Linked DNA regions of Homo sapiens: region 2 is linked to region 1. Evidence: promoter capture Hi-C in 16 types of primary human blood cells and fetal thymus (Javierre and others, 2016). All regions are on one chromosome and are shown on one strand. The core of a region is centred on a gene start or on the middle of the fragment in contact, and the rest is flanking DNA. Distances in the headings are between cores, read along the strand shown. Region 1 holds the start of CD1C (CD1c molecule). Region 2 overlaps SPTA1 (spectrin alpha, erythrocytic 1).

Region 1 (3,138 bases), core at 326-2,825:
GATGGGATAATGGGAAATGGCCCAAAAATTAGTAGAGAATATTTCCCTGAAATAGAACATTCTAAAGAACTCCCATAATTTAGATGATTGAACTTACATTTCGAGTAATCTTGACTTGCATGGTCTTGAATCTCCCGAGTTAATCCAAAGAGGTAGAAACGAAATAACAACTCTAGGTCTGACAACTCTTCATTGCTGAAGTTGCCCTTGGACCAGTTATGCAGGAAAATTATTGTGCCTGATTCACTGTCCCAGCCATGAGTCTGCAACTCGTCCAGCCATCCTGAGCCCTGACCTCGTGCCCAGGATTGGTTGACAAATGAGAAGATCTGGATGACATGGAAGGAGACGTGTTCCTGGGATGCTTTTGGTGGAAGAAGGGCAAGTAGTGTAAGGAAAAAAAAAAAAAGAGAGGCAAGGAAAATGGAGAGAAAATGGAAGGTGAACCAGTTACCACAGAGAAACATTAATGACTACTTTAGCTATACCATTTTCCTTACACAGAGCCCCATGCTCTGCCACCATCCTCTAAAAGAGTAAACTGGACCTGGAGAGAGGTATGCTCAAATGGCAACCATTCTGGCTTCTTCATTGATCCATCTTGGGAAAGCCCATCATGCTCAACCCAGATACATGTAACCTTGCAGCTGACAGAGATGTTCATACTATCTGCATTGTCACCACCGGGGAGGAGAAGAACTAGCAGCGGAAACTACAGAAACAGCATGTCATTTGCAGTTGTTTCCTTCTCTCAGAAAAGCCATTTGCTGATCTCTGTTCTTAGCAAACTTATCCCTCTACATCTATATTCTGACTTCCTTCTACCAACAGACAATCTTCCCCATCAGCCACTGACAGCAACTAAGACAATCTGCTTCCCTTAACCTTAGGCCTCCTACTCAATCTCTCATTTCCCCATCTGCTCTGAACTAAAGTTACTCTCTTCCCTTAGGATTTTAGCTGCTCTCCCACTAAGCTCCATCTTATCTACTTCCCTTCCTCAACTGCCTTAGACAAAGTGGTGCGTGGCATTGAAAGGTTGCTTCATCCCTCTGGACCTTGCGTGTCATTTGTAACATAAAAAGGAGAAACCACATCATTTTCCTGGGCCCTGATTGTTTTAACGGAAAATGGAGAGGAAATGGAAATTGAACCAGTTACCACAGAGAAACATTAATGACTACTTTAGCTATAACATTTTCCTTACACAGAGCCCATGCTCTGCCACCATCCTCCAAAAGAGTAAACTGGACCTGGAGACAGGTATGCTCAGATGGCAAGCATTCTGGCATCTCTATTGATCCATCTCGGGAAAGCCCAGCACACTCTACCCAGATACATGTAACCTTGCAGCTGACAGCGATGTTCTTACCGTCTGCATTGTCACCACCTGGGAGAAGAAGAGCTAGCAGCAGAAACTGCAGAAACAGCATGTCATTTGCAGATGTTTCTTTCTCTCAGAAAAGCTGTTTGCTGATCTCTGTTCTTAGCAAACTTATCCCTCTGTACCTATATTCTGACTTCCTTCTACCAACAATCTTCCCCATCAGCCGCTGACAGCAACTAAGAAGATCTGCTTCCCTCAACCTTGGTCCTCCTACTCAATCTCTCATTTCCCCACCTGCTCTGAACTAAAGTTATTCTCTTCTCTCAGGATTCCAGCTGCTCTGCCACTAAGCTCCATTATATCTACTTCCCTTCCTCAACTGCCTTAGACAAAGTGGTGTATGGCATTGAAAGAAAGGTCATTTTGTCCCTCTGGATTTTGCATGTCATTTGTAAGATAAAAAGGAGAAACCATGTCATTTTTTCAGTTCCTGCTTGTTTTAATAGATCACAGTTCTTCCAGTTTCTCCACTTAACTTTGCCTCCACTCTCCATAGTGTCCCCTCTTCTCATCACTCCATTCTTTCTTTCCCCCTTTTGAATGTCCTCAAAGTTTTCTCTTTCCAATTTCACCTCTTTTCACCCATCTTTCTTATTTCCTCATTCTCACTGATTCTTTTATAAATTGGAGACGTTGCTTTTTACATCTTCCAAGATTTCCCTGCACAATTATATAAACTACAGTCCACTCTACATTATCCTTAGAGATTAAATTGCAGCCATTCAGAATGCATAGGACCATAACAAATATAAAGAAGCCCTTCTACTGCATTTAATCTGTATAGTCATTCACTAAAAAATTACATAGTACATGGTTGATACCAGTGTCTTACTAGGCATATAAACACACAGAGGTTAACAATGTAATCTCTTCTATCAAAGAGTTTTAAACTGCAGATGTTTAAACAAAAAATTAAAATGCATTGTGATTTTAATTTCAATGTATAGAATCCCAGATACAAATCTACTTAGAACTATATTCTCTAGAGCAGCATTTTGACTGACTAACCCCCTGGGAAGTTCATAATTTGAAGTCCTGGAAGAACAGCATGCATCTCAACTAAATACTGAAAATTCTGTACAGTGTGGAATGGTATACGATTGTGATAGTCAGAACATGCAGCTTTTCAAGAGGACTCATACATGGGGAGACCACAAAAATCCAAATTTAAGTTGTTTTGTGATCTGACCAAAACACATTGTATAAAAAGGGCAGCATTTGTCAATGTTTGATTTAAGTAGTTTATATGAAGTATTCAGTGACTTATCAGTGACCCTGGCTGGTTAATATGTGTAAATACATGAACACAGTTTTTTTGAGATCCAGGAAATACATTTATTATTATAGTGTTTCTTAAATCATATTAATTATTCACTGAATGCATTGGAGCAGTCACTTAAAATCTGGGCATGAATTTGTGCTAGGCACAATGACTCATGCCTGTAATCCCAGCACTTTGGGAGACCAAGGTGGGAAGATCACTTGAGCCCAGGAGTTTGAGACCAGCCTGGGCAACAAAGTTAGACCTCATCTCGATAAAAAAATTAAAAAGTTGGCCAAATGTGGTGGCACATGCCTGTAGTCCCAGCTAAATGGGAGGCAGAGGCAGGAAGATCTTTTGAGCCCTGAAAGTCAGGGCTGTAGTGAGCCATGTTCATGTCACTGTACTCCAGCCTGGGTAACAGAGCAAGACCGTGCCTTAAAAAGGAAAATCCCATTTGTAACATTGTTTCTGTTTTAAATTTATATTT
Region 2 (3,131 bases), core at 316-2,815, 360 kb before region 1:
CACAAAAAAATAAAAAATGAAAAATTAGCCCAGTGTGGTGGCACAGGCCTATGGTCCCAACTACTTGGGAGGTTGAGCTGGGAGGATCACTTGAGCCAGGAGGCTGAGGCTACAGTGAGCCTTGATCAAGCCATTGCACTCCAGCCTATTGCAACAGAGTGAGACCCTTATCTTCAAAATCAAAACAGAAAGAAAGAAACTTGAAGTTGAAACAGGAGGTTTAAGTAATTACATTTCTCAACTAGAAGCTGACAGTAGAGGGCAACAGACATCACATTGACTATCAGCTCATTCAACATTTTTCTTGTTTGATTTTCAAACTAAGAAACACAAAGACACATACAAAAAAGTAAACAAACAAAACAGAAACTAAACACCTTCATTGTGTATAAATGTATTTTTGATGATGCAGGGAAGGAAAAACAGACTCAGACAGGTCTGTGTGTGTAGAATGCTTAAGATAGAAAGCTATGGAAATATGATGGTTAAGCATGTGACTGCTGTCAGATGGCCTGGTTCAAGCTTAGGCTCCACCATTCAGCAGTGGTATAATCTTGAGAAAATACTTACCCTCTTTAGTCCTCAGTTTTCTGATCTATTTAATGGGAATAGTAATAGTAACTATGCTTCTTGGAGTTGTGAAGATTAAATGAGCCTAAGTTTCTAGCACATAAAAAACAATGATGATAATTGGTTGGGGTGGGGGGGTGGGTGGGAGGATGGTGAGTGGTAGTGATGATAACTTTCTTGTGACCCCCACTAGCCTGCCTCTGGTACATATCCTTACTTTTGAACTCTCTACTCTCTTGTATACCAGAGAAGCAGATGACACGAAGGAGCAGATTGAGAAGAAATGCCAGGCCCTCAGTGCTGCAGACCCTGGCTCAGATCTGTTCAGTGTTCAGGCTCTTCAGCGACGGCATGAGGGCTTTGAAAGGGACCTCGTACCCCTGGGAGATAAGGTGAGACAAGTCCTTCAAAGCTTTTCCAACACTTTCCAGTCTATATTTAGCCGTATACCAATGCCCTCTTCTTTGGTTCTCTTTTTCAGTCTTTTATTCTTATATTTCTCTCTGTTCTGTGCCATATTTATTCTTGTACACTGTCCCTAAGGCAAGACCATGAAAAGGATATGCCCCATGACCATTAACATGGGGAAAAAACTTGTTAAACTCCTGCTGTCTGAGTGAGCACCCTATATCCCCTTGCCTCTTTGGTGGGTTACAAGTGACCAGATCTTGTGGCAGCTAGGTGGAGGCCAGTAGCCCAGAAGAAATAGCAAATGTCCATACCCAGGATGATCAGGCCAATATCTGAGTATGGTGCATGTTTTTCTTAGCAAGGAATTGAATGAGTTGTTTAACTCTGTTTCAACCCAAAAGTGTACTCTGGAGCTTGTCAGATATACTCAGAGGCTTGGCATTATCATGCAGAGCAAAAAGAAGCTCCTCACATGAAGAATCAAGACCCTTGGGTTTCCTAATTGAGGTTGCCACTAACCAGCAGAGTCACTTAACCACTCTTCCCCACAACTCTCTTATTTTTAAAAAGAAGTATGGTAATGCCAATTGTAACTACCTTAGGGAGTTATGTGGACTAAAAGGTTGATATTATTTTGTAAAGTATGATGACATACTTGTACATCACTGATATCTATTTGAGGAGCTGAATACTGGGACTCAGGATTCTCCTTTTGCTAAGATTCAGGTGTGTCTCTAGGCTGATTATCAGAGCTATTGTACCTCCCCAGGTGACCATACTGGGGGAGACAGCAGAGCGGCTCAGTGAGTCCCATCCAGATGCCACTGAGGACCTGCAGAGACAGAAAATGGAGCTGAATGAGGCCTGGGAAGACCTGCAGGGGCGTACAAAGGATCGTAAGGAGAGCCTAAATGAGGCCCAGAAATTCTACCTGTTCCTCAGCAAGGCCAGGTAGAGTGGGGTGGGTAACTTCCGTGTCTGGCCTCTAAGTAGACTGTCTGGGAGCAGTCTGGGTACAGATGCTGTTCACTGCTGGTTTTGGAGGGCATCACTACGTTTAAGTCTCACCTCTTGCAAGGCATAAAAAATTTCAGGTTTGAAACTAGAAGCAATAAAATACAAAGTTTGAAAGAATATGAAGCCATGTAGGCCAATTAAGTAAGCTTCTATAATGTAGAAGCTTTTTTGTTCTACTGAAGAGACAGTAGTATTCAGTCTTCTACTGTATTCAGTATTCTGTTGAATACAAATAACTATGGTAGAACATAATGAGGCCGAAAACACACATTGTAACAAACAGCAGTGGGAATTCAGAGTTGGGTAGAATAGATGATGCACTGTAGATAAAGTAACATTTTATTACACCTTATCAGTCAAACTTTTAACAGAAGAGAAAACAATTCATGTAGACTGAACTGTGCAAAAAAAGACATAATCATGAGAAAAGAATAAGCATAAGAACATGTTTGGGGAGGGGGTGGTAAGGAGAAGTAGTAAGAGATAAACTTAAAAATAATATTGGGACCAAATTCCAGAGAACTGTGAATATCTTACTAAAGTCTAGACATTATCACAATCCAAAATTCACCTCTCAAACATATACTTTGTGGAACAGTTCCCACGTTTGGCTCTATCGCATCAGTCAGCTGAGAGGAGCATTAGAGTAGAGGGTCCAGGAAGTTGTAGCTCTCAATGCAATGCTTTTCAAGAAAAAAGGAGGCAAATTTTGGCAAATGACTGTAGTTCCTCTTGGAAATCCCCTCCCCAGTTCAGCACTGGAAAGCTATAGTTTTTGACACAGTTTAAATAAATAGCACCCACACCCATTCCAATGGTGCTTCCTTCCCTTTATGAAGCTGTACTCCTCAGTATTTCAGAGTAGTGTTCCCACCCCTGAGCAACATTAACATCTTATTTTACTCCATATGATACTTTTGCTTTCAGTTTTGTTTTTTAATTGCTATTAGTGCCTATGCTCTGTTTTTTGTTTGTTTTTTGTTTTGTTTTGTTTTGTTTTTATCCATTCTTAACCTAAAGTATGAGTTCCTAGAAGGCACAGATATGCCTTTTTCACAATGTTTGGTACTTAGTAAGCACCCAATAAAACTTAGTTGCTTGAATAAATAAATTTACAAAAGAAGAGACCTCTC

The links. Contacts are between HindIII fragments. The CHiCAGO score rates a contact against its expected background, and 5 or more counts as called.
Region 2: a contact is called between a fragment that was not itself captured here and the fragment with the promoter of CD1C in region 1, in 1 of 17 cell types (fetal thymus). The highest score is 6.1, in fetal thymus.

What each region holds. Positions count from the first base shown.
Region 1 is chr1:158,288,360-158,291,497 of GRCh38, reverse strand. It overlaps CD1C (CD1c molecule), which reads right to left and starts at 1,575. Exons shown (of 6, transcript NM_001765.3): 1 at 1,373-1,575; 2 at 98-364. The coding sequence starts at 1,433. It also overlaps a transcript of CD1B not described here. The HindIII fragment of the contact is 9,220 bases long and covers 1-3,138 here.
Region 2 is chr1:158,646,340-158,649,470 of GRCh38, reverse strand. It overlaps SPTA1 (spectrin alpha, erythrocytic 1), which reads left to right. Exons shown (of 52, transcript NM_003126.4): 26 at 818-962; 27 at 1,751-1,932. Among named protein-coding and RNA genes, the nearest start is that of SPTA1, 39 kb to the left of the region's middle. The HindIII fragment of the contact is 1,162 bases long and covers 985-2,146 here.